2 separate regions of the Homo sapiens genome follow, and region 1 is linked to region 2. The links are contacts of gene promoters, found by promoter capture Hi-C in blood cells and fetal thymus (Javierre and others, 2016). All regions are on one chromosome and are shown on one strand. The core of a region is centred on a gene start or on the middle of the fragment in contact, and the rest is flanking DNA. Distances in the headings are between cores, read along the strand shown. Region 1 overlaps DUS2 (dihydrouridine synthase 2). Region 2 holds the start of CTCF (CCCTC-binding factor).

The links. Contacts are between HindIII fragments. The CHiCAGO score rates a contact against its expected background, and 5 or more counts as called.
Region 1: a fragment that was not itself captured here is called in contact with the fragment with the promoter of CTCF in region 2 in 2 of 17 cell types (naive B cells and total B cells); the score reaches 6.5 in naive B cells.

What each region holds. Positions count from the first base shown.
Region 1 is chr16:68,072,128-68,075,494 of GRCh38, forward strand. It overlaps DUS2 (dihydrouridine synthase 2), which reads left to right. Exons shown (of 17, transcript NM_017803.5): 13 at 1,907-2,028; 14 at 3,228-3,367. Among named protein-coding and RNA genes, the nearest start is that of NFATC3, 12 kb to the right of the region's middle. RefSeq lists an enhancer at 3,195-3,304. The HindIII fragment of the contact is 1,112 bases long and covers 1,083-2,194 here.
Region 2 is chr16:67,560,097-67,563,791 of GRCh38, forward strand. It overlaps CTCF (CCCTC-binding factor), which reads left to right and starts at 2,430. Exons shown (of 12, transcript NM_006565.4): 1 at 2,430-2,628. It overlaps CTCF-DT (CTCF divergent transcript), which reads right to left and starts at 2,213. Exons shown (of 1, transcript NR_158165.1): 1 at 1,315-2,213. LOC124903703 (a long non-coding RNA gene) reads right to left here and starts at 3,354. Exons shown (of 2, transcript XR_007065094.1): 1 at 3,199-3,354. RefSeq lists enhancers at 1,522-1,571, 1,592-1,641, 2,786-3,648 and silencers at 1,872-2,881, 3,402-3,501. The HindIII fragment of the contact is 5,949 bases long and covers 1-3,695 here.

The sequences.
Region 1 (3,367 bases), core at 389-2,888, 510 kb after region 2:
AGGAGTGCCTGTGGCTGCCATGGTATGTGAGTGTTTCCATGGCTGTGCAAGCTAGGATGGTAAGATGCCCTGAGGTCTGCGTCCAGAGCTGGGCAGCCTTTGTCCTATTTCCTGTTCAATGCTGCAGCCCTCACTCCCTGGTTCTGGTGTCCTGCTGGGCAAGTTGGTGACCACCAGCTCTCCAATGGTCTGGGATAGCTCCATGGCAAGGGAGGGCTTGCCCCAGCCCAGGTCAGCTATCCAGCTTTTTGGCCAGCTGGCAAGTCTGGCCAAGAAGACGTGCTGAACAGTGCTGAGCTTGCTCACTGGGTGAAAGGTGATATTATCATTCCTGCTGAGCCATCTCTTGGCAGCTCCTCAAGAGGGTGTGCTATCACAGAGAAAGGGAGCGGCTTTCAAGCATAGGCAGGGCTGCTTCTGGTCCAGCCAGGTGCCTTCTTCCCAGACAAGCTGAGTCAAGGACTTGCCACCAGCCGGGGCGCCCCGACTTACTTCCCACTTTGTCCTGAGCGTGCCGTGGCACTTTCCCAGCCACTGAAGTCATAGGCCCACGTGGAGTTACTAGAGCAGCATAGGGGGTGGGGGATGGGAGGGTGTCCTGGAGGGCTGGGGAAGGCCACCTTCACCCAATACTGCTCTCCTGCCCTACCTCTAGCCAGCCGACTTCCACTGGGTGTCCCAGGCAGTCAGTCATCTTGCCTCCCTGAGCCTTCATTTCACGGTCTGTGGAGTGATGGTGACAGTTGCACCTCACACTTGTATAGATAAATGTAGTCATGAGTAACCCATGTGAACTAAATGATGCTGTGTTTTACCCACGTAGGGGGAAGTTAGAGGCTATTCAAGATGTGGGAAGGGAAGGTGCCCATTCTGGTTAGAAGGAATAGAAGAATCTCACCCCTTTCCTGGCACTGGACCTGCCATGCCAGAATTTGGTGTGTTTCCCCTCCCTTCCCTGGAAGATACTTGGCAGTAGGTCCTCTGTGGTGGCTGAAGCAGGAAGGGGCTCCCGCACTTCGAGACCTCAGTCAGGCTGTCCAGGAGAATGTGTTTCTGACCGTGGTCCTTGGCTGTGACCCTCAAGCTTTGTACCACTAGCTGGAAGAGTAGATGACCAAGGTCGAAGTGGCTTTTTAATTTATTTTTATTTTTATTTTTAATTTTAGATAGGGTCTCAGTCTGTTGCCCAGGCTGGAGTGCAGTGGCATGATCATAGCTCACTACAGCCACAACTCCTGGGTGCAAGCAATCCTCTTGCCTTAGCCTCCCTAGTAGCTATGGCTACAGGTGTGTGCCAACATGCCTGGCTAATTTTCTTTTTCTTTTTTTTTTTTTTTTTGAGACAGAGTTTTGCTGTTGTCGCCCAGGCTGGAGTGCAGTGGCACGATCTTGGCTCACCGCAACCTTCGCCTCCAGGGTTCAAGCGATTCTCTTGCCTCAGCCTCCCGAGTAGCTGGGATTACAGGCACCCGCCACCACGCCCAGCTAATTTTGTATTTTTAGTAGAGACGGGGCTTCACCATGTTGGTCAGGCTGGTCTTGAACTCCTGACCTCAGGTGATCCGCCCGCCTTGGCCTCCCAAGGTGCTGTGATTACAGGCGTGAGCCACCGTGCCCAGCCGATAATTTTCTTTTTTTTAATTTTTGTAGAGTTGAGTCTTACGTTGCCCAGGCTGCTCTTGAACTCCTAGCCTCAAGCAGTCCTCCTGCATTGGCCTCTCAGAGTGCTGGGATTACAGATGTGAGCCACTGCTCCTGGCCAGTGGTGGTTCTTCTTATGGGGGTCACATTGCCTTGGCTACACATACATCTCTGGTGCCTTCTTGGAGCTCCTTTCCCTGCCATCAGAGCATAGCCCAGGCCTTAGAGCCTGCCTGGGCATCAGGCAAGTCATTTCTTTTCTCAGGCGGTGCAGTATGACAACCACTACACCAACACCAAGTACTGCTTGTGCCAGATGCTACGAGAACAGCTGGAGTCGCCCCAGGGAAGGTTGCTCCATGCTGCCCAGTCTTCCCGGGAAATTTGGTAAGAGGCACAATAAGATGTCCATCTGTCCTTGTACGCATTGCCCAAGTTTGACTTTGAGCCCTAAGCTGACTCCACCAGGGGACCAGGGACACAGCTTCTGGATGTAGATGTAGAGGAGTGGAGTGATGGTACAGCTTTGCCTCCCAGGAGGGGATTCTTTGAAAGCTTTGAAACGTCCCATCCCTGGACGGATCAGCAGAGCTCTGGGAACTAGGGTACTAGAAGGATAGAGGAATGCAAAGGAAGGGGATTTTCCATAAATGGGATAGTCACAGGCCAGGCCCCCAGGAACCAGTGGTCAGGAGAATTGGGCTGTAGCATGGAGCCTCTACCTTGAGCCTGCACTCACATCCATCACCCTGCAGTTTGAGAGACCACCTGTTGATTCTCTAGATCAGGTGCAGCTCTAGCTCAGATGGTTGACAGTTGAGGCCCTTCACAAGCTGGCCTAGCCACTGCCCCCACAGCTCCCTGTCTACCTGTCTGCTTCCAGAACTCCACACCTGTGCTTGTAATGGGTCGTCTGCCTGGAAGGCTCTCTCCCTCTCACGTGAGCTATCTGTAGCCTCCCTCTTACATAGATGCCTTTCTGAACCACTTTTGCCATTGGGGATCTATCTTCGTTTGAGTCTTCCAGCCTTCAAGATGTTTCCTAGAAGGGAAAAACCTTTGCCAGAGCCCTCTTCCCACCCTTGGCTTATGGCATTGGTTCAGTCCCTACCCCACATAACTCTGTAGCTCTGGGTGGTGCCTCAGTGTCAGCTGAGACCCATGTATAACTGCCTGTGGCTGGGCGGGAAGTGGGGAACCACTTAGTGGTCAGGCCTCTGTCTCTTCCTCCCATGGGCCCATGTGCTTGATCAGCATTGGTTAACTCAGTCACGGCTGGCTGGGGATACCATCTGTGTGCTTCCCCTCAGGAGAGAGGCTGCAGGTGGTGGGGGTGACCTTTACAACCTTTGCCACCCAGCCCAGCCTCCCTCCAGTGTCCACGCTTGGGTTCACATTCACTTTCCATCTTCCAGTCCACAGTAATCCCAGGGCTGGGCAGGGGGCACATTCTGATGGCCAGGCCCCGGTGGTGTTTTGGTGTATGTGGTAGAGGAGTTTCTCAGTGGTGGGGCCCTGGGGTCCTGCAGTACCCTGGATGCTGGCTCCGCTAAAGTGTTTGCTCTGATCTGCTTCTTCCTCCCTAGTGAGGCCTTTGGCCTTGGTGCCTTCTATGAGGAGACCACACAGGAGCTGGATGCCCAGCAGGCCAGGCTCTCAGCCAAGACTTCAGAGCAGACAGGGGAGCCAGCTGAAGATACCTCTGGTGTCATTAAGATGGCTGTCA
Region 2 (3,695 bases), core at 1,180-3,679:
TGCACTCCAGCCTGGGCGATAAGAGCAAAACTCCGTCTCAAAAAAAAAAAAAAGAAATGAGAAAAATTGGGTCCTGGTGTTGAGAAGCTGTACTATCCCTTTTCTTCATGTCTGTACCCAAGCAGCTGAATGTTGGAGAAAAACCAACACACTGGGCCAACTGGTTTACCTTTAACATCATGATCACAAACCTCAGATGAGTACCCAATGCCACCAAGGCAATCCTGTTAAGGACTTGCCTTCCCTCTCCCCTGCACTTGCATCTGTCTTCACCTTTGTTGCCCTTATCATGAATGGAAGCATCCCTGTTCCTCTCCAAGGTCAACCCTCCCTGTTTCCTTATATCTTCTGATGGATTTCACTCCTATATAGGTCAAGCAAGCCTCCTCTCTCCTGGATCACCCATCTTTCTTCCCCACCATATCCCTCCCAATGGCACATAAACATGCTCTGGGAACCCTACCATCTTTTATTTTATTTATTATTATTTTTTGAGATGGAGTCCCGCTTTGTTGCCCAGGCTGGAGTGCTGTGGCCCAATCTTGGCTCTCTGCAACCTCTGCCTCCCGGGTTCAAGCAATTCTCCTGCCTCAGCCTCCCCAGTAGCTTGGATTACAGGCGCGCGATACCATGCCCAACTAATTTTTGTATTTTTAGTAGAGACCGGGTTTCACCATATTGGCCAGGCTGGTCTCGAACTCCTGACCTCAGGTGATCCACCTGCCTTGGCCTCCCAAAGTGCTAGGATAACAGGCGTGAGCCACTGCGCCCGGCCCCTACTATCTTTTAAAAGATTTCTTTCTATATCTATCCCCAAACTTATCTGGTCCCTTCACAGCAAAACCTCTCTCAAATTGCATACATGTGCTGTCTCCATTTCCTCACTTTCCTGGTGACTGTTTAACCCATTCCGGTCAGGTCCACCTCCCTGATATACTCACGTGAATCAAGCCAAGGCCATCAGTGACATTCTCCAGTGACTTGCAAGGTGACCCAATCCAATAGCCACATCTCTGGCCCAAGTTTATCACACCGCTCAGCTGATGCCTCCTACCTGAAACCTTCTCTGCCCAGGGATTCCACAACTCAGCGCTAGCTTTCATGACTTCCTAGATGCTGCCTTTCAGACTCCTTCTCCATTACCCTCCCAATATTGGAGTGCCCCAGGATTTGGCCATGGAATTTCTCTTCACTCTTTCCTCCAAGCCAAGCCAGGGGTCGTAAACTGACAGCTCATCTGTGTGGTTTAATCAGCTCATGAAGTTTAAAAACATCTGATTCAGTTGCTAACATCTAAAAACTCTGGAGATTTGACATCTTAAAAATACAGATTTTTTTATTCCTTTAGGGGAAAAAAAAAGAGTATGTTATTGGGCCAGCATTCTCACAACGGAACGGTCAGATGGATGGAGAAGAAGCTGCTCCCTAGATATTGGGTCCATTTGATATCTAAGGGAAGAGTCATATTCCCTGTAAGTACCAAAAGGCTCTCATCCCAGAGCCACCAGCACCTTGCAGTCAGTTCTTGGTCAACTTGACTGCAGGTTGGGAAGGGTCCGCAGGCGCCTCCTGGGGAGGGGTGGGACTGAAGGTCTCCGCCCACAGAGAACAGCTCTCCCGCAAAGACAAGAAATGCACGTTTCCACAGAATTACACAGCGCTAAATACAGAAACTCCTTTCAGTAAAAAGCGATTGCTATGAACGTGTTAAAGCATCAAGTCTGGTTTTCCGCCACCTCTCCGGGCTGAGGTGGCCTGGGGACACCAAGAGGAGGCCCTCCCACTCTCCTCTCGCACCCGCTTTTAGGTGGCCCTCTTCTAGGGCGGAGAGATCACCAAAAGCCGCTGAGCAAGGACAGCCCTTCCAGTCGTCGCTCGCGGGCACGGAGCTGGGAGCGCGCGGGAACCGACCGGGCCTTACTCTGGGGCGGGCAGCTGTAAGACATTCGGAGGGCGGGTCGGGCCTGGCTGGGGCGGAGACTGGGCGGGGCCGGGCCCGGGAGCCTCCTCAGCCCCACTGGCTTGCCCCGCGCGCGCTTCCTCCAGCCACCCCCACTTCCCCAACCCTGTACGGGTTCAGGGGGCCGGAGACAGCAGCTAGGGAATAAGGTCAAGCGGACTGGATCCGGCACCGCCCAGGGGCGGCGGCCTCCGCCCAGGAAGCCCCACCCAGCGGGAGCCAGGACGCCGCGGCGCCGGCAGAGCCCACGAGCGACCCGGCGAGGGCGCGTGCGGCGTGACGACGCGACTCGCGGCGCGTCCCGTGACGCCATCGCGCCCGCTTTTGAAAGTTGGCGCCCGGGGCCGCCTCCCATGCTGCCCTGCGCCAACCCCTCCCCTCACCTTTCCTCCCCCGCCCTCTACTCGCCGCCCGGCCGGTCCCCCCACCCGTCCCTTCCCTTATCAGCACCCGCGGCCCCGGCAGCGCCGACGCAGGCGCACTGCACCGCGCCGCCGCCATTTTGTGTCTGAGCCTGTGGAGCGATTAAACCGTGCGCGGAGCTGCTTCTTTGGCGGCAGCGGCGGCGGCGGTGGCCGGTGCGGACGCGCGGAGCTCGCCGGAGACGCCGGGTGGCCGGAGCCGTGGAGCGGCGGCGGAGCGGGCGCCGCGGGGGGTGTGGCGCGGAGGTAAGGGGGCCCGGGGTGGAGGAGGTTTCGCGGGCCGCCTCTAGGTGTCACGATGGGGCCGCTCCGGTCGGCGCTGGCTGCAGCCCGGCGCCAGCGCCGCCGCCGGGGGGTGTTTGTCTCCCTCTACCGTCCCTGCTGCGGCGCGGCCGCCGCCATTGCCCGTCGCCGCCGTGGCCCGGCCGCCCCCCCCACCCCCACGCCCGCCCGCCCGCCCGCCCGCTAGGCCTCCCTCCTGGCAGCGCGCTAGGCCTCGGGCGGCGGCAGAGGCAGAGGCCCGCGCGCCCGGCGACTCCATTTTCCTTCCTTTGTCTGCCCTCGAGGCCGGTTCTTGGCCGGCCGATCGCCCGGCCGCGGCCCGCCCTCTGTCCTGTGTCCTCCGCCCCTCCCGCGGCGGGTGGCCCCAGCTGAGACACTATCTCCGCGTCCCGGCTTCGGCGCCCGCCTAGCTTAAGGGTTCGGACCGACTGCCGCCGCGCGCTAAGCCAGGTCCCGGTGCCGTATGGGTGTCGGGCCCTGGCCGTCGCGTCTCGGGCTGCCCCTCCTCCAGCCAGCCCCGTCCCCGGAACCTACCCTGCCGGCCTGCGTGCCTTCCCAGCTGCTTGGCTGCTCGGCGGTCGCTCCCAGTCCGCGCGTCGCCGCCGCTGGTCTCCGTCTCCGCCGAGTGGCGCAGGCGGCGCTGCAGCGGCTGCGAGCAGAGGGACCCCAGAGCTGCCGAGAGCTCCCTCTGCAAGGCTGGCTGAGCTGCTCGCACCTCTACGCTGCCTGAGCGGGCGGGGGGACGCGCGCTCGCCGCCCCCGCTGCGCCCCCAAACTCGCGCCCGGGTTCCTGGCCGGACCCGACCGGTGCGGCCCCCCCACGGTGGGCGGAAAAGATGCGAGTTCCGCACCAAGTAGTTTTTATCCAGCCGGGTTCGGACTCCCCAGCCGAGTGATAGCAGCCTGACTTTGTGCGCTCAGAGATCTCAAAGGGACTGAAACTTAAATTTCATTCTGATCTCAAGTGACGTGACAAATTTCTGAATTTGGGAGTATGGGCTAAGTCCCTTGAGTTTCCCTCCCGCTTTAAA